Linked DNA regions of Homo sapiens: all the other regions are linked to region 5. Evidence: promoter capture Hi-C in 16 types of primary human blood cells and fetal thymus (Javierre and others, 2016). All regions are on one chromosome and are shown on one strand. The core of a region is centred on a gene start or on the middle of the fragment in contact, and the rest is flanking DNA. Distances in the headings are between cores, read along the strand shown.

The links. The method cuts DNA at HindIII sites, captures the fragments that hold promoters and counts their contacts. A CHiCAGO score of 5 or more calls a contact.
Region 1: a contact is called between a fragment that was not itself captured here and the fragment with the promoter of NDUFV2 in region 5, in 11 of 17 cell types (megakaryocytes, erythroblasts, fetal thymus and 8 more). The highest score is 11.7, in megakaryocytes.
Region 2: a fragment that was not itself captured here is called in contact with the fragment with the promoter of NDUFV2 in region 5 in 6 of 17 cell types (M2 macrophages, erythroblasts, naive CD8 T cells and 3 more); the score reaches 7.1 in M2 macrophages.
Region 3: a contact is called between a fragment that was not itself captured here and the fragment with the promoter of NDUFV2 in region 5, in 1 of 17 cell types (erythroblasts). The highest score is 7.1, in erythroblasts.
Region 4: a contact is called between a fragment that was not itself captured here and the fragment with the promoter of NDUFV2 in region 5, in 1 of 17 cell types (M0 macrophages). The highest score is 5.3, in M0 macrophages.
Region 6: a contact is called between a fragment that was not itself captured here and the fragment with the promoter of NDUFV2 in region 5, in 1 of 17 cell types (M2 macrophages). The highest score is 5.6, in M2 macrophages.
Region 7: a fragment that was not itself captured here is called in contact with the fragment with the promoter of NDUFV2 in region 5 in 1 of 17 cell types (naive B cells); the score reaches 5.8 in naive B cells.

The regions. Positions count from the first base shown.
Region 1 is chr18:9,474,790-9,477,489 of GRCh38, forward strand. RALBP1 (ralA binding protein 1) reads left to right here and starts at 724. Exons shown (of 10, transcript NM_006788.4): 1 at 724-902. RefSeq lists a silencer at 655-1,064 and enhancers at 688-1,556, 1,295-1,354. The HindIII fragment of the contact is 672 bases long and covers 1,092-1,763 here.
Region 2 is chr18:9,491,920-9,494,619 of GRCh38, forward strand. The region is part of intron 1 of RALBP1 (ralA binding protein 1); the gene reads left to right. Among named protein-coding and RNA genes, the nearest start is that of RALBP1, 18 kb to the left of the region's middle. The HindIII fragment of the contact is 961 bases long and covers 913-1,873 here.
Region 3 is chr18:9,606,566-9,609,265 of GRCh38, forward strand. The region is part of intron 2 of PPP4R1 (protein phosphatase 4 regulatory subunit 1); the gene reads right to left. Among named protein-coding and RNA genes, the nearest start is that of PPP4R1, 6.6 kb to the right of the region's middle. The HindIII fragment of the contact is 2,824 bases long and covers 13-2,700 here.
Region 4 is chr18:9,575,616-9,578,315 of GRCh38, forward strand. PPP4R1 (protein phosphatase 4 regulatory subunit 1) reads right to left here. Exons shown (of 20, transcript NM_001042388.3): 10 at 1,449-1,576. Among named protein-coding and RNA genes, the nearest start is that of PPP4R1, 38 kb to the right of the region's middle. The HindIII fragment of the contact is 828 bases long and covers 869-1,696 here.
Region 5 is chr18:9,101,424-9,104,123 of GRCh38, forward strand. NDUFV2 (NADH:ubiquinone oxidoreductase core subunit V2) reads left to right here and starts at 1,276. Exons shown (of 8, transcript NM_021074.5): 1 at 1,276-1,374. The coding sequence starts at 1,321. RefSeq lists a silencer at 1,004-1,363 and an enhancer at 1,636-2,345. The HindIII fragment of the contact is 6,653 bases long and covers 1-2,700 here.
Region 6 is chr18:9,539,838-9,542,537 of GRCh38, forward strand. No RefSeq gene overlaps it. Among named protein-coding and RNA genes, the nearest start is that of RALBP1, 66 kb to the left of the region's middle. The HindIII fragment of the contact is 6,194 bases long and covers 1-2,700 here.
Region 7 is chr18:8,663,408-8,666,107 of GRCh38, forward strand. No RefSeq gene overlaps it. Among named protein-coding and RNA genes, the nearest start is that of RAB12-AS1, 28 kb to the left of the region's middle. The HindIII fragment of the contact is 6,278 bases long and covers 1-2,700 here.

The DNA of each region.
Region 1 (2,700 bases), core at 178-2,677, 370 kb after region 5:
GACTGGGCAGCTTTCCTCGGGGGCTGCTCGGTAACTGCTGAGCCGGGGGCGCGCTGAAGCCCTGCAGAAGCCCACACCCGCTTCAGGAATTCCGTGGATGTTCCCGACAGAGGTTTATTCCCGCCTATCCCTACAGGCCCACGGCGCTCTTTCCTCCAATCCCACACCCAGTCGAAGGCGGGGCAGCCGCCCCACCCAGCGGCCAGCCGGGCGGCCCCCAGTCTGGTTTAACTGGTTGGAACGACTAAAGCACGCTGGCGCAAGGAAAGCTCTCAACTTCGGGAGCTGAGGCGCAGGCTGGCCAGAGCGTGGAGAGGAAAGCCCTTTCCATCCTCAAGGCCGTTGCAGGAGATGCCCGCGAGCCACCTTCGCCAGCACCACACCGGGGTAAGCCGTCCGTCCCCGAAACCCGCAAGGCCACCGACTGCGCAGGCGCCTGCAGAGCACTGGCCCTCGGCGCGTTCTCTCGCGCTCTTCTTCAGTCTCCTCAGCGAGCCTGGGGACGAAGGGGGCGCGGTGCCTCCTGGGTGTTGTAGTTTGCTTCCTTGGCGAGAGGCCTTCGGGCTGGCTGGACGCCGGGGCCTTGGGAACTACGCCTCCCAGCGCGCCCCGCGCGAGAGCCCAGGTCGCCTGCCCTTGACGGCTTCAGCCGTCTGAGCGGAGAGGAGGATCCGGGAAGCCGGCTGCGGCGGGAGGAGGGAATGCGCGTGCGCGCTGGACCGCCTCGTCCCGTTCCGTCCCAATCATTGTAAACAGGCAGAGGCTGGGCGGGGTGGGAATGGGGCGCCCGAGGCCGGCCTGGGGCGCAGCGCAGGAGGCGGCTCCGGTGGCTGCGGCGGCAGCGTGAGCGCGAGGAGGCGGAGGCTGCGGCGGGGCGGACGGTCGCGCGGCGGCAGGCACAGGTCAGTCGCAGGGAGCGGTCGCGTGCTAGGGTCGCGGCGATACCCCTGGAGTGCCCGAGGAACCCTCTCCCGCGCCGGCCTCGCGCCCGCGTCTGTCAGGCAGCGTGTGGGGCTCGGTGCTCGCAGCGCTCGGGTTTGAAGTTGGGGGTGGGGGGCGTGGCTGCCCCTGGCGTGGGTTCCTCCCCGGAAAGCTTCGCCCCAGTTTTCGCCCCCCTTGGCCGTGCGTCCCTCCCACTGGCCGACGGGCCTCCCTTCGTGGCGTCCTCGTTTGTGGTGCTCTCGGGGGCCGGGGGTGGAGAGTTAGGAGTCCCCAGGCCTCGGGGAAGCTCTTGGGGGGCGCCTGGACAGAGGCTAGGGGACCCAGCCCTCACGGTTGGTGGATCGTGCCCGGCATAGTGGCCAGGCTCCAGGGCTTACCCAGGGGACCAGGACAGGCTCCTGGTGTCGCCCACCGCTGGCACTGAGCAGTGGGCGCCTTTGGGTGCTGCGATCCTTCCTTCAGGTTTCAGTGGGAATGGACAGACAGATCTGAAGTTGAAAATTCTTTTCACAACTCATGTTCAACTATGTGTGTTGTCAGAATGCTCTTAATGAGGTCAGTGTTCTCCCTCTTTTTTTTAAAACTGATCGTTGTGAGAGTGAAACAGGTTTTACAGAATATTTAACACCTCCGTCTTCCCTGAAGTAATTCTGCTGTTTCAAGTTTTGGGATTCAGTATTACAAAGCCTTCCTCTTGAGCAAGGCCTAGTACAATTCTTCAAGGTCCCTAGCATGTTAATTCGAGGTGTTTTGAACGTGCATATACAGGAAGTGCAGCCGTTTGGCCGTTGAGTTAGTGCTCCATCCAGCCTTGTTAGAAAAGCTTTCGCTGAATTTTTAATTTAGTGGAGTGGTCATGTTCTAATGCTGCAGTACTTTGGGGAGTATTCCATTATACTTGGCAGTTATTAACGAAATACTGAACTTGTGATAAGGTTTTGTTTTGGTGCTCAGCATTTCTAAATGAATAAGTGGGACTGTGAATAAGAAAGATCACCTCACTTTCTGTTTTTAGAGTTATTGTGGTCATTTGATAACTCCTTTCTGTCTTTGTGAAAATAATTACTGTAAGCTGGAGTGGCGGTAGTAGGGGTAGGAAGGAGGTCAGTAGAGTGGTTTCCACCTCTCATTCAAAGTATCTGGTAGATCCAAGTGGGGTAGGTTAGTTAACAGTAGCTTTTTTTTTTTTTTTTTAGTTTTTTATTTTTTGAGACAGAGTTTCGCTCTTGTTGCCCAGGTTGGAGTGCAATGGCATGATCTCAGCTCACCACAGCCTCTGCCTCCTGGGTTCAAACGATTCTGCTGCCTCAGCCTCCTGAGGGGATTACAGGCATGCGCCATCACGCCCGGCTAATTTTATATTTTTAGTAGAGACATTTTCTCCATGTTGGTCAGGCTGGTCTTGAACTCCCGACCTCAGGTGATCTGCCCGCCTAGGCCTCCCAAAGCGCTGGGATTACAGGCGTGTGCCACCGCGCCCTGCCAACAGTAGTAGCTTTTGAGAAGTGACTCTTTAAACAAGGTATCTCGAAACAATGTAATACAACTTAGTTTGCTTTCTCTTCAGGATATTGTTTCTAATTATGGATCTTATCCAGACTATTTCTCCCCTAATTTAGAATAGGAAAGTGGTATCAGAAAGTGCATAATAACTTTAATTTGTACAGTTATATTTGCATAGTTGTTTGCTTGGCAAGAAGAGATCGGGCCCAGCATGTAACCCAAAAGAATATTGTTTCTGTTTTGAAAGATCCCTGA
Region 2 (2,700 bases), core at 143-2,642, 390 kb after region 5:
TTAAGTCTTTCTTTTTTTTCAAGGTAATGTGTCATTTTTTTGTAGTATTTTTGTGTTTCTTAACCTTTTACAAAAATAGACTTTATTTTTAAAGCTGCGTTTGTGTTAGAGTTCGCTCCTGGTATGCTGTACATTCCGTGTGTTTAGACAAATGAATAATGAACATGTGTCCACCACTAAAGTACCAATACAGAATAGCTTCACTGCCCCAACAATCCTCTGTGTTCCACCTATTCATTTCTTCCTCCTCCCTAAACCCTGGCTACTACTAATCCTTCTACTGTCTCTATAGTTTTGCTTTTTGCAGAATGTCATATGGCCTTTTTAATTAACGTCTTTTTTTTTGAGACAAGGTCTTGCTTTGTCGTGCAGGTTGGGGTGAAGCGCTGGGATCTCAGCTCACTGCTGAGCCTCTACCTGCTAGGCTCAGGTGATCCTCCCATCTCAGCCTCCCAAGTAGCTGGGACTACAGGTGTGCACCACCACACCCAGCTAATTTTTTCTTTTTTTTTTTTGGGTAGAGATGAGGTTTTGCCATGTTGCCCAGGCTGTTCTCTGACTGCTGTGCTTAAGCAGTCCGCCCACCTTGGTCTCCAAAAGTGCTGGGATCGCAGTTGTCAGCCACTGTGCTCAACTTCTTTTACTTAGTAATATGCATTTACATTTCCTCTGTATCTTTTCATGACTTGATAGCTCATCTCTTTTTAGCACTAAATAATATTCCATTATCTGGATATACCACAGTTTATCCATTGCTGCCTTTTTTGGGGGGATTTATAATATACCTGCTATAAACATCTATGTGCCGGTTTTTGCATGTACATAAGTTCTCAATTCATTTGGGTAAATACCAAGGAGTGCGATTGATGGATCATATAGGAAGAGTATGTTTAGTTTTGTAAGAAACTGCCAAGCTTTCTTCCAAAGTGGCTGTGCCATATTGCATTCCTATCAGCCATGGATAAAAGTTCCTGTTGCTCTATATCCTTGCCAGCATTTGGTGGTGGTAGCATTTTGGGTTTTGCCATAATAATGGTATGTGGTAGTATCACATTGTTTTAATTGGTAGTTCTCCAATGATATAGCATGCTGAGCATCTTCTCATGTGCTTATTTTCCATTTACATATCTTTGGTGAGGTGCCTGTTCAGGTCTTTTGCCCATTTAAACAAAATGAATTGTTTTCTTACTGTTTAGTTTAAAGAGTTTTTTTTTTTTTTTTTTTTTTTTGAGACAAAATTCCCCCAGGCTGGAGTGCAATGGCACTATCTTGGCTCACTGCAACCTCTGCCTCCCAGGTTCAAGCGATTCTCCTGCCTCAGCCTCCCGATTAGCTGGGATTACAGGCGCCTGCCACCATTCTCGGCTAATTTTTGTGTTTTTAGTAGAGACGGGATTTTCATGTTGGCCAGGCTGGTCTCGAACTCCTGACTTCAGGTGATCCGCCTGCCTTGGCCTCCCAAAGTGCTGGGATTACAGGCATGAGCCACCGCACCTGGCCTAAAGAGTTCTGTGTATATTTTTGGGTAATAGTACTTTATTGGATATATTTTCTATAAGTATTTTATTTCAATGTGGCTTGTCTTTTCAATCTTTCAGTCTTAAGACTCTTAATTTTTATGTTCACCCTCCCTCTCTTTTTTTTTTCCAGAGCATTAACTAAAGAAACTAAATTGTATATCCTATAGATTTTGCAGCTTGATCTGTGTGATATGAGATATATAGATCTATCTGTTTATCTATCTGTCCATATATGTTTTCATCCAGAATTCCTGGCTCATAACTCCCATAGCCCCTGTTATTTCTTAAGTGACTTAAACAATAAGCATATCTTTTGTTAAAGTATTTTGCCTTTTGTCTTTGGTTCCTGAAGAAGCTTTGAAACAGCTTCTGAGCAATAAAGGTGAAAGACAGTCTTTTGTTATAATGTTGGAGTACTTTAGATCTCAGAAGTAGGCCTCAGAAGACAGATCTCTCTCTCTCTGGCCTTCTCCTGGTCTTTGTTCACTTGCTCATTTTTCTCCCCAAGGCAGGCCATAGAAACTAAAAACATGCTCTAATCTTCCCCCGGCTTTCTGTCCACAAGCTGGCCATAAAGGAATTCTCTGACTTACATTGTCTGATTTTAGGTCATAAGACCCCCATTTCAAAATGGATCTTGTCCCATACCATGGAGGAAGCAATGCTGCACAGAGAGGCCAAGAAGAATCTGAACAAAACAGGCCTTACTGGGTTTCCCCACTCAATCTATTAGTATTAGATTATACCCTTTTTGTTCAGTCGCATTTCTGCATGTTTGTCCATACTTCAACATGCCTATCCAATGAAGTCTCCATCAAAAATTTAAGAAGATGGGGTTCCGAGAGCTTTTTGATTGCAGAACAGGTAGAAGTTCCTGGAGGTTAGTGTAGCCAGAGAGGGCACGGAAGCTCTGCACTCCTTCCTACATGCCTTGCCCTGTGCATCTCTTCATCTATACCCTTTGTGTATCCTTTATAATAAACTGAACATAAGTGTAAACCTAAGTGTATTCCTAGGTTCTGTGAGCTGCTCTAGGAAATTAATCAAACCCAAGGCAGGGGTCATGGGAACCATGATTTATAGCTGGTCCCATCAGAAGTGTTACTGGAAAGATGTCCTGATCAGAACCCAGGATAGGGTTTTTAGACCTCACCCAAGAAGGAATTTGAGGAGAGTCCTT
Region 3 (2,700 bases), core at 175-2,674, 510 kb after region 5:
ATCAATACTAAAAGCTTACTAAATCCTTAGAAATGCAAAATTGTCCTATAGCACAACTGAATTTAAGGCAAGAATAATTTGCTGAAGTATACTATATGTATATTCATATATGTATTTATATTTATATATATACACCATATGTATAATGTATTTCTATTTATATAATACAGTAGTGGCATGTTTATCTAGTTTCAAGTTAGTTACCAAGATTATGTATACAAACAGTATTTAACAGAAAGGTAGTATAACAAAGCACTTGCTCTGACATACACTTGTGGATCTCCCAAATATTATAGATATTTGTTCCCTTCAGTGAGTAAAAATTTTCTTTGCACTCTTAACGCAATTACTTTGGTAGTAACCTTTTTTCCCACAGGTAATCCAAATACAAAATTTGAACTAACTCAGGTCCAAATTGCCACCAATCTTAAATAAATGAAGTATTGAATAAATGAGTTATTTCTATCAAAAATGAATTTCATAGATTTAAATATAAAAGTGATCTACATCAGGCTGGGTGCAGTGGCTCACACCTGTAATTCCAGCACTTTGGGAGGCCAAGACAGGTGGATTGCTTGAGCTCAGGAGCTCAAGGCCAGCCTAGACAACATGGCAAAACCCCATCTCTACCAAAAATACAAAAAAATTAGCCAGGCGTGGTGGTGCAGGCCTGTGGTCCCAGCTACTTGGTAAGCTGAGGTGGGAGGATTACTTGAGTCCGGGAAGCAGACGTTGCAGTGAGCCAAGATAGTGCCATTACACTCCAGCCTGGGCAACAGAGCCAGACCCTGTCTCAAAAAAAAAAAAACAAAAACAGAAACATGGATAAATGAAAGTCAAAACCGAGTAGTAGAGACATGATGGTCCATCTGCCTTTGTATATGTCTTAAGTATCTGTAATATATAACGAACTCTCAAAATTTAATAAGAAAATGTCCCAATGAAAAGATGAGCAAAAGATGTGAAAAGGCACTTCACCAAAGGAGATAAGTTAGATGGCAAATGAGCACATAAAAAGAGTAACATAATTAGCCATTAATGCAAATTCAAGCCACAAATTAATACTATTATACATTTAATAAGAGTGGCTAAAATTAAGACTGCTCACACTAAGTGTTGACAATGATGATGAGGACCTGGAACTCTCATACACTTTTGGTGGGAATGGAAAATGATATAACCACTTTGGAAAACAGTTTGGCAGTTTTTCTTTCTTTCTTTTTTTTTTTTTTTTTTTGGATGGAGTTTCGCTCGTTGCCCAGGCTGGAGTGCAATGATGCAATCTCGGCTCACTGCAACCTCTGCCTCCCAGGTTCAAGTGATTCTCCTGCCTCAGCCTCCCGAGTAGCTAGGATTACAGGCATGCACCACCACGCCCAGCTAATTCTTTGTATTTTTAATAGAGACGGGGTTTCACCATGTTGGCCAGGCTGGTCTTGAACTCCTGATCTCGGGTGATCCACCCGCCTCGTTCTCCCAAAGTGCTGGGATTACAGGCATAAGCCACCGCACCGGGCTGGCAGTTTCTTAAAAAGTTAAACAGCCATTCTACTTCTAGATGTATACCCAAGAGAAAGAACATATATATTCACACAGACTTGTGTGTGAATGTTCATAGCAGCTTTATTTGTAACAGCAAAAAAACTGCAGATGATCCAAAAATCCATCAACATTTTAAAGGTAGAAAGCTGAGAAAAAGTTAACTTGCTCAGATTATAAAGAGAATAAATGGCAGGGCCAGAATATTAACTCAGGTCTAAAGGCTTACCAAGCCCAGTGTTCTTTCCCCTACACAAAACTATACTGAGGTATCTTCCAGAATGACTGCATGATAGATGCTCAAATACCAACCACATTCATATCAATAAGGCCAGAAAGTAAGTTAAGTTTGCTCCTTAGTCTAGGGAGATAAGAAGCTAAGATGACTTAAAAGTTAGGAGAGTTAAGAAATGAATGTGGAGGAAGCAGCATTGATGATGTCACCAGCTCAAAGATCTGTGCTAAAAGCAGAGCAAGTTCCAGACCCTCTTATAGAAATTAGAGGGAATACCTCCTCAGCCAAAATTCCATAGGTGTGCCATCCAGACTTCTGCCCAAAACACTAAGTTAGGTTTATTCTCAGCTCCAATTTAAAAACAACAACACAACTCTAATTCAAATTTAGGAACTTTCAAATTCTTTTACTCCAAAATATAAAAAAAAGATGTAATACAAACATAGGAGCAAGGTAACAATAGTTTAATAAACATACATTCATTGTTTTGAGGAGACTGAGAGAAAAGGACCAGAAATAATAAACCAGAGATCAAACAAATGTGGCAGCAGACTTCTGAACTTTACCTCCTGAGGTCTATTTATCTTTCACAGGCAGGAACAAACAAAAAGTATGCATTTAGGTGTCTTGGTTTTTTATTTTTTGGAGGGGGGAGGGCAGTGGATCGTGTAGCTACAGGCCCAAGCATATTTACAAAGGGGTTTTTCTCTCTGTCTCTCTCTCTCTCTCTTTCAATTTTATGTGGGAAGTTGTTAGCAGAGGTATCATTAATTGATCCAACACACATGTGGGTACCACTGAAACCATTTTAAAAGCACTCTTTTCTAAGATATCAATGATATTATCTCTAAATAAAGATCTCTCCATCCAGGCTTGTTGGCAGCAGTCAAAACAGGCTACCAGGTCTCACGACTCACCCTCCCAAA
Region 4 (2,700 bases), core at 33-2,532, 470 kb after region 5:
AATTGAACTACCTTTAAATAGCTATTGCAGTAATGCTACACACCGGTAGGCGGCAAACATGGCCTTGATAGGCACACTGTTGAGGTCAGTGAAGTTTTACTGGAACACAGCCAAGCTTGTCCATTTATGTAATGTCTACGGCTGCTTATACACTGCAAAGGCCGAGTGAGTAGTTGTGAAACAGAAGAAAGTTTACCAGCTCGTCCTATACAGTTCTCTGCAAATTTATAGTTTCTTACTAGACCCATTTCAGATTTTAAAACAGAAGTTATGTAACAGTCTTCAGTATAAACAGGTAATTTTTTAAGTATGCTGATTTCAAAAATGAAAAATAGATAACATTCCCCACCCACCATCATCACTTTTGTCAAAGTCCTGGCAGCACCTGTTTTCAAAAAAACTGACAGACTTTGCTTGCTAGGAAGACAGGTTTGAGTGATTTTCTTCCTTTACAAAAAACAGTACCTCAGGTTTGTTTGGCTATTCAGCAGGACAGTAGGAGAACGGGCAAAAAGGTAAAACAAGGCAGCAGAGAAGAAAGAAGAACTGCCAAATCAAAACACCAAGAAAGCAAATAGCACAGTATCAAGACCTACAGAAGAAAATGTCCATTAGCATCATGACAAGGGAGGGAAAAGACACTATGGTAACTCAAGCATTATAGCAGGGACTGTTTCAAATATTTGTACTAAAATTACTTCAAGTGCATAACTGTAAAAGTTTGTGTACATTTCCCGCATACTAGTAAGTTAGGCTTGAATTAGTTTTTCCCCTAAATATATATTATAATAAATTTTTAAAATTTAAATTTAATAGAAAATTTTCAATGCAAAAACATTTAAAAATAAAAATCACAGCCGACTCTTTAAGCTTTATTTAAAACTTTGGTTTCCTTATGAGACTGATATACTTAAAACTGATATACTGGCTAATATACTGGCTTTCTCCTTTAACTGACAGATTACAATCACCATTGACAAAGAATCCAAGATGCGCAACTAAATTATTTGACAGAAAAGGACAATAAAACATATTCCTAAATTAAGTTTTACTCCTTAAAAACAAATTTAAAAAAACCCAAATACTACACAGTGTGTAACAATTACCCTGTATATTGTAGATATCAATGAATGATTGACTAAATAATGTACTAAATAAACATTTTTTAAAAGTCATAATCTACCATTTAGAGTTTCCTATGTGCGAGGCATCTAGCTAATTGTGTTACATGCATCTACTCATTCAATATGTAACCAACCAAAGAGATACTTAACAAACAAATGCGCTTAAAGTAAAGCTCTATAAAAATATTCACCAATTTTTATATTCAAGAGAAATAGCAAACTATCAAAAAATAACATTTGTTGCAGAATAGTGGAAATAATGTTTAAAAGCAGTAAAATTAGAAAACAAGGTTTTAAAATTAGAAAATGGTTTCAAAATTATACCTATTTTTGTTTTCTACTGACATCTCTTCTGAACTTTTGCTTTCTTCTTTAAAATACTGGCCTGAGCTAGATGGATTAGCAAAAGTAGATATGAAAGGTCCCAGAGACTGAAAAGCTGCTTGGCGAACCTAGGAAGATAAAAAGGACAATAATAAAGGAATCATTTTGAAAAAGAATTATATACGCACACATTATGTATATTTAATAATCTACTTTCAAATGCCGAAGTATGTTTAGGATAATAATGAAGCTTTTCTAAAGGAAGCCCAGATTCAGAACTTTAGCTAGGACTGAAAAATTCTTACAAGCTATTTTCTCTGGCTGGGCGCAGTGGCTCATGCCTGTAATCCCAGCACTCTGGGAGGCTGAGCTGGGCAGATCGCTTGAGTCCAGCAGTTTGAGACCAGCCTGGGCAACATGGCGAAATCCAGTCTCTACAAAAAATACCAAAGTTAGCAGGGCGTGGTGGCGCATGCCTGTGGTCCCAGCTACTCGGCAGGGCCTGAGGTGGAAGAAGCGCGTGAACCCATGAGGCTAAGTCTGTAGTGAGCCGTGATCACACCACTGTACTCCAGCCTGGGTGACAGAGCAAGACTGTCTAAAAAAAAAACCCCAAACAAACCCCTATTTGCTCTTTTTTACTTTCAATTGTTTTTATCCTCTCTTGAATGTTTGAACCATGATAATCTAAGTATGAGATACTATGAAACATTTGCATAGAACAAAACTAAAGAAGGTCCTGCTGTGTTCTCAAGAACAAAAAGAATAAGGAAAACCAAGAGTGCCACAAAGAACATAAAAATCAATAAAGCCAACAAAATGTGATAAATACATTTAATGTTTTCAGGTAGGAAAGACTTTAATTTGTTCACTAGAAGGAAGCAAGACAGACGTACCAGAAACATAATGTTAACTTAAAGTATGTCACAAAGATCTTGAAGCATATACTATTGTTCTTGATGACTGTCTCATGTAGGAGGGGTGATAAAGAAGTTATAGAATTCCACTTCATGTCGTATTTCTGTATTATTTTTAAAATCAGGAATTTTTAAAACATTTGAAAATGAGAGGTTTTATGGAAGGATGGACACAATCGGACAAAGGCAACAACAATGGGAAACTGGTATGTTACTAAAACCTTGACTTTGCCACACACCAATTTCCCTGAAGTTTAGCATTCCTTTTCCTTTTGAGACAGCTCTTGCTCTGCTGTGGAGGCTGGAAAACAGTGGTGCTACCATGGCTCACTGCA
Region 5 (2,700 bases), core at 26-2,525:
CCTGACCTCGTGATCTGCCCACCTCAGCCTCCCAAAGTGCTGGGATTACAGGCGTGAGCCACGCGCCCGGCCAGGTGTATAAGTATTTAGGTAACTTTATAACAAAATACATTTACATTAAGGGCCAGACTGTCTTTTCCTTTTAAAGGGAAATACTGAAGCTAATTTAGGAGAGGCAAACTAACATAAAATATAAGGCAAAGGAGTGGGAACCAAGGCATTTGGTATCTATTTCTAGCTCACTGGGCAGCAGTCCTCTGTGTCTTGAATTCTGTGATTTGCGAAATATGATTCATAGGGGTTGCAATGGAATATTTCTGAGTTTTTAAACTAATGAGGGATAAATTTTTAAAATCCCTGTGCTGCTGTGAATGTTCTAGAAATTATTCACAAGTTTATTATAGCAAAGAAAATGGGCAAAAGGAAGGGGGTGGGTACAGGACGTGACACTCCAGAAAAGAAGGCAGTGACGTAAAAAATCAAGAGGAAGTCCACACCAGGAAATAGTGCTGTGCACATTAGAGCTGTTACTGAATAAATACTTGTTGGAATTTCCAGAGATAACCAAACAAACATGAAGAAGGAAGTGGGTTTTTTTTTCAGCTTTATTATGGAAAATATCTAATATGTACAAAAGTACCGAGAATAGTAAATAAGAACGACCATGCAGCTTCTATGGCCTTACTTAACGGCCAACTTGCTTTATTTTTCACCTCCCGCTCCCCACTATTCTCAAGCAAATTCCAGACATCATACCATTTAACCCCTAAATATGTCGCACATATCTCTAATGCAAAAGATTGGGAACCAAGACATTTGGTGTCTATGGCTAGCACACTGGATAGCAGCCCTCTGTGTCTTGAATTCGTAACATGTAGAATAAGATTTATAGTGGGTTGCAACCCGACTTTATTTTTAACTAACAGCAATATAAGAGGAGGTGGCTAATCCTCACAAGGCTCTCCATGAGGGAAGCTCACCCCTATAAATCCAGGCGGGCGCTTCGTTACCCAGGAGCCCAAGGTGCAGCTCCGGGACGCTTCTTTTCAAGGCCGGGACCCCTGCAGCGGCCCGTAGGACACCTCCCTTTCCGAGCACGGACTGGTCCCCGCCCCTCCCCCGGGAAGTCTCCGCCCACAGGGCCCCAGCAGCCCCCGCGCGCCCTCGCTCCCTCCCGTCAGCCCCCGCCCCTCGGCGAAGGGAGCGGCGTGCCGTCCGGGTCGCCTAGGCCTGGGGTCGGGAGCGCGCACGCTGTGCGCCCTGGGCGCGCTCGGGATTCTCGCCTGGCGCGGCTGGGGAAGGTGAACAGTGTGGCCCGCCATGTTCTTCTCCGCGGCGCTCCGGGCCCGGGCGGCTGGCCTCACCGCCCACTGGGTAAGGAGGCTCAAGCTGAGCCCGGCGCTGCCGCCGCCCTTCTCTTGCTCTCCGTGTCTCCCTTAGTTTTGGGCGCAGGAGAGCCCTGGGCTCTGCACGGGCCTGCAGGCGGCGGCAAGGACACTGCGGCCTTAGCCCTCTTAGGGAGGCCGCTGCAGCCCCACCGTGAGAAGCCCCGAGGGAGGGTTGCCATACTGGGAAGTGTACTCCTAGTTTGGTCGAGGAGGACAGAAAAGAGGGGCTGCTTGGTGATATATATATATATGTTTGTTTGTTTTTGCTGTTTTGCTGTAGCGCAGAATCTAGGCCTGCTCTGGCCAGATCAGTTTCGAAGACCGTCGCTCCGAAGGAGGCACCTCTCGTTTCAAGCCTAGTGACCTCGATGCTTTTAGGTTGCAGCATACTGGAGAGCTCTGGCTTGCTTCGTGAAGGCTTAGGGAGAACTTCATTAGGGCTGGAAAAGGGTGGCCAATGTTTGATTTACTGCAGTTGTGCTTTGCATATCGGAAATGCTGGCTAAATAAACGGTATCAAACTAACTCTGAAAGAACGGCGCCGCAAATAACAGCACCCAATTAAAGAACCACAGGATTTTAGAGATTAAATGATCTTTTTGAGATCCAAGTACATCTCATGGTAGGCAAGGAAATTGAATTGCAGAGAAGTTGAAACACTCCTTCACGTTAATCTAAAAATGCAGATTTCCAGAAATGTCGATTATAACAACAGGGCCTGTTACACAAGTAATACTGGAAAGAAGCCTTAGTTTTGTTTGTTTTCTAAGAGTGAAATAGGTTAAGTCAGTTCTCAGCAAGAGGGAGCTAGTGTATATTCATTGAGAATGAATTCAGGGCTTTAGAGTTAGACTCGAGTTTGGATGTTAGCTTAACTGCCTTTTGTGGCTCTATGACTTTGTGCTGTTAATCTTCCTCAGTTTCTTCAGTTGTAAAATGGGAATATTCCTTTTTGCAGAGTTCAGTCTTTCAATAAACATTTGAAGTCTTACTGTACGTCATGCACTGCTGAGCTCTAGTTAACAGTGTGGATAATAATGATAGTCATTTGATAACTGTTTTCTGTATGCCAAGCACCGAGTTAAATATCTACATTCCACATCTCATTTTTGAGGCTGGTATTACTTTTTCCTCATATTACAGATAAGGAAAAGATTTAGACAGTTCCCGTTCTTTTGGAATTGATAGTCTCATGTAAGAGGAACTTTAAGGTTGAGACAATGTAAAAGTACAGTGTTAGAGAGATGAATAGGGTCATCCAATGTGGTTTCAAGGTGCATAAGATTTTTCCTGAAGGTAATACTAACAGATT
Region 6 (2,700 bases), core at 113-2,612, 440 kb after region 5:
CCCCTGCCTGTGGGGCCAGAGCCTGGGTACCAGAAGGCGATGCTGAACGCTGCAGCTACAATTAGAGCAAGAAGCTCCCCTTTGGAAGGGCAGCTCTAGCCTTCTGAAAAGGGTCACACCAGCAGTTCTTGAGTTTCTCATGTGGGGATAAAAACCCTCATATCATCTCACTACTGTTAAGACTGTTCCAATGACAGAGAGCAGTCGGAGAGAAGGAATGGGAAGTTCTCTCGAATGAGGAGGGTTGAGTTCTGCCTCACGCATACTGCACCACAGGCTGGCGAGGCCAGGAAGGAACTCCCTGAAGAGGGAGCCATGGTGGAGAGCTCGGCAGGCTCACACCTGCCCACTTAGGCTGACCTTGCTGTAGGGAGGCCATGGAAGGTACAGGACTCTCCCTTACATCAGAATTTCAGATCAACGATGGATGTTTTCTTAGTGTAACTGTAAGTATGTCCCACGCAACTGCAGTTGAATTGAGTGTCCTGTATTTTGACTCGTGAACTCTGTCCACGCTGTGAAAGGTGACTGTGATCTTGAGTGCTGCACAGATAAGGAGTCCTTGTTATTTGAGGGAAACAGAACACCCAAAGCAGGTGAATGTCGGGCAGAATCCAAGAAACTGAAGGGATCGAGTAGGTCCAGCTGGGGAGGGGAAGGAAGGACTCAGCATTGACAAGGTTTGGCTCTTTGCCTCAAATTAAAATTGTGGGGAGATTCACCAATCAAGCGTACAGCCTCCTACTGATCCCTGCAGGCCACCTACCACTCGCAAAGGGACACGGCTTGCTAGTAAAAGACTGAGCCAAGCGGATGGGTCTGGGGCAGCTGTGCCCTGTCCATGACTGACCCTGGCTGCCCCCAGGGTGGCAGTGATGCCGCAGCAGCCACTACAGCCACAAGCTGTGACCCCCACAAGCCGTGACCACCACAAGCCATGACGACCACTAGTGGTCATGTGGGCTTTGACATGTAGAGTTTGGAAGTGCTGATTTGCAGCCAAGGAAGTAAAATATAAATATTAAATGTTTAAAATCTCTGATCATTGTGGGTTAAGATATCAAAATTATGCAAAGAGTTTAACGTGGCAAAGATAAAATCCTACACCAACAGACTGCATTATGGCTTCAGTCTCAGGAAGGCCAGGTCTCTTGGCCCCACCCCAGACCTATGGAATCTGAATCTGCATTTGAACCAAGTCCCCAGGTGACTTAGCCACATGTTAACTTTTGGAAAACAGGCACCAGGCCGGGTGCGGTGGCTCATGCCTGTAATCCCAGCACTTATGGGAGGCTGAGGCGGGTGGATCACGAGGTCCAGAGATCGAGACCAACCTGGCCAACATGGTGAAACCCTGTCTCTACTGAAAATACAAAAATTAATTAGCCAGGCGCGGCACCGTGCACCTCTAATCCTAGCTACTCAGGAGGCTGAGGCAGGAGAATTGATTGAACCCGGGAGGCAGAGGTTGCAGTGAGCCGAGATTGTGCCTCTGCACTCCCACCTGGGCAACAGAGTGAGACTCCATCTCAAAAAAAAAAAAAAAAAAGGAAACTTTCTAAATGTCCAACAACATTTCACTAGATACTTAAAAGCTACAACAGAAAAACCAGGAAAATCTCAGTAAATGACCATCCAGGAAGGTGGGCCAGCAGTCTTACAGTGTCCACCCCTGTTATCCCTTGGCCTTTTGCCCAGCCAGTGGGACAAGCCCCTATTCTAGCCTGAGCTTGCTAGGGCTCCCCTTTCCTTGTGGATGCCCTCCTGGCTCCCTCTCCCTCCCCTCAGCATCTGCCTGTGGGATGTTCCCTGCGGAACTTCCTCTTGTCCACGCTGAATTCCTCACGGTGCTGGAGGACCAGCTTGCGCTCTCCTGTCCACGGCCGGGCATCTCCTGGGGATTGGGAACAGCAGGACAATGTGGGCCCGCACCCAAACGCGGCTCAGGAGCCTCTGGCGAGGTGGTGGCTCTTCCCATGGAACTACTGAAAATACTACTCAGTAGCTGTCTTGTATCCAACTAGCAACAATTATTGGTAATATTAACACTAAAAAGCAGATGGGGTGAAATAATCATGGTAAAATTACTAAAAACTGCAAGTAATCTTGTCAACTCTAAATCAGCAAAATTTGCCCTAAAAGAAAGACATGGTAGAAATTAAACTCATAGCCATGCTGCAAAACATCACATGGACTGAAAGTGGATTATTGATCATTTGTCAAGTTTTCTAGGAAAAGAATTAAAGAACTATTTTTTTGAGACGGAGTCTCGCTCTGTCCCCCAGGCTGGAGTGCAGTGGCGCGATCTCGATCTCAGCTCACTGCAAGCTCCGCCTCCCAGGTTCACGCCATTCTCCTGCCACAGCCTCCCGCGTAGCTGGGACTACAGGTGACTGCCACCACGCCCGGCTAATTGTTTTTGTATTTTTTAGTAGAGACGGGGTTTCACCGTGTTAGCCAGGATGATCTCAATCTCCTGACCTCGTGATCCGCCCGCCTCGGCCTCACAAAGTGCTGGGATTACAGGCGTGAGCCACTGCGCCCGGCCAGAAAAAGAATTCTTAACGAAAATAATTTCTATAAGATAAAACTAAAACTGTTGGCCGGCTGTGGTGTCTCACACCTGTAATCCCAGGACTTTGGGACACCAAGGCAGGCGGATCACCTAAGGTCAGAAACCCTGTCTCTACTAAAAAAATT
Region 7 (2,700 bases), core at 54-2,553, 440 kb before region 5:
GTGAAGAAGCTGAGGTGAGGGCTGTGACTTCCCTAGGTGCTCAGAGAACGCTCCCGAGGCTGAGGCCTGCCCGCCAAGACATTAGGGGGAGGACAGCCTCAAGCAGACCTGGGGACAGGCCCCCAGCAGGGCTCAGGAGCAGAAACCGGCCAGATGCACCCAGCAAGCAGAGGACAGTGGCCAAGGGAGGTGAGTGGCTCACATGACTCGCAGGCCTTGGAGAGGGATCTGCACTTCATTCTAACTGCAATTTTTCACCCAAGAGAAAGGAAGGTAGCCTCGGGTTGGGAGGGACCCATTGTGCAATTTGTTGTAAGGTCAATACACACCTGAGGTGAGCAAAGACCCACTGTGAGTGATCGGAAGAGGGATCATATCCTTCCAATATCTGTGATCGATCCCATCCAACCCTCCCTTTTATGCATGGTGCCTGACGTGGATGCTGCTTCCTCAGATCTACATGTTCAGTACACAGCAGAGCCTAAACTGGAGGTCAGTCTGGTGAGGGTTCTGGTTTGCCCCAAAGAGATGTGGGGTGAATGAGAGAGTGATGGCATCAGGCTCATTTGCTGACCAGAACCCTGGGCTGACCTAGAGAACGGTAACGAAAGCACAGGATAGATGAAGAAGTGGGAGAAATGGGGCCGTGTGTGTGTGTGTGTGTGTGTGTGTGTGTGTGTGTGTGTGTGTGTGTTCTAATATAGGAATGTGCTTGCAATATTACAATATAATGGCAAGTGAAAAAGAAAGGAAACTAAAGAAAAGATAAGGATTTGGAAAGTTCAGTATTTTGACAAAGAGAGAGAACTAAAGACAGAAAAGAAGAAACTGTTCAACAAATAAAGAGATCAGGTTTTTATTTGTTTTTACTGTGAAAAGGAATCATTTGCTACCTACCTCAAAGATACTGAGCCCAAGTCCCTGCTCTGAAATTCAAGCACACTTGTCAAAAATCTAAAACAATTTTCATTCAGTAATAGACACTCAAGCCTTTGGTAAAGATAGGATATCTGGAATAAAGTCAGTTCCCCAACCTCACATAATACACATAAAGTAGGTCAAAATAGGTCCAACTAAAACTCTTAGAATAAAACTCAGGAGTAAATCTTCATGACTTTGGGTAATGTCTTCTTAAATATGGCATCAATTGCACAAAACAACAAAAGGAAAAAACAGATATAGTAGACTTCATCAAAATGATAAACTTTCGTCAGGAGTTCGAAACCAGCCTGGGCAACATAGCAAGACACTGTCTCTATAAAAAATTAAAAATTAAAAACTTTTGTGCTACAAACTATCAAGAAAGTGGGAAAACAATGCACAAAAAATGTTGTCTGTATCAAAATCTTTGCAAATCATGTCTCTGACAAGGACTTATATCCAGAATATATAAAGAATTCTTACAATTCAATAATGAAAACACAACCTAATTTTAAAAATGGGCAAATAATTTGAATAGACATTTATCCAAAGCAGGTATACCAATGGCCAAAGCACATGGAAAGATGCTCAACATCGCTAGTCATTAGGGAAATGCAAACCAAAACCAGAATGAAAGCCTTCTTAATACCCAAGAGGATGGCTATTATCAGAAACATACATACTACCAAGTGTTGGTGAGGATGTGGTGAAATTGGAACTCTCTTACACTGATGGTGGGAATATTGAAGGGTGCAGCCACTTTGGGAAAAAAAATCGGTAGTTCTTCTGTTACTGGTGGAGGGTCTTGACTGCAGGTTGTCCAGTTTCTAGGCATTTCGAACAAAGAATTGGACAAAATGCACAGCAAAGCAAGGAAAGAATGAAGCAACGAAAGCAGAGATTTACTGAAAATGAAAGTATACTCCATAGCGTGGGAGCGGCCCAAGCAGCAGCTCAAGGGCCCCGGATAGAGAATCTTCTTGGGTCCAAATACCCTCTAGAGGTTTCCCATTGGCCACTTGGTGTTCACCCCATGTAAATGAAGTGGTGGCCTGCAATCAGTCTGATTAGTTGCGGAAAGCAACCAATCAGAAGCTAAAGTGAAGTTACAAAGATGCACTCCTATGCAAATGAAGACTTGGCCTACAGTCAGAGGCTGAAGTTACAAAGCTACCTTCCTATGCAAACGTCTGGTTGCAGAAAGCAACCAATTAGAGGTACTTCCAATTTTCCATCTGCCTTGCAGAAAAGGTGGGGGTTTGCAAAGAGAGTAGCCTCTGGTCCTTTTGGTACTTGGGCATGGAAAGCTGGGATTTTTCTTTTGATTTAGTTCTAGGAAGTCAGGGTGAATCAGCCTTAGGTTTCCTGCCTCCAGATCCTATTCTCCCCCACTTCAAAAAGTTAAACATATTACCATAAGACCCAGCATATGACTCACCATATGACTCAGCCACTTCTACTCTCTTGGATATATATTCGATAGAAACAAAGACATATATCACATACACACTTGTACTTGGATGTTCAGAGCAGCATTATTCATAAAAGCCAAACCCAGAAACAATGCAAATGTCCATCAACAGATAAACGGAGAAGCAAAACGTGGTCTATACATACAATGAAATATTACTTGGCTGGGTGCCATGGCTCACGCCTGTAATCCCAGCACTTTGGGAGGCTGAGGCAGGTGGATCACCTGAGGTCAGGAGTTTGAGACCAGCCTGGCCAACATGGTGAAACCCCGTCTCTACTAAAAATACAAAAATCAGCTGGGCATGG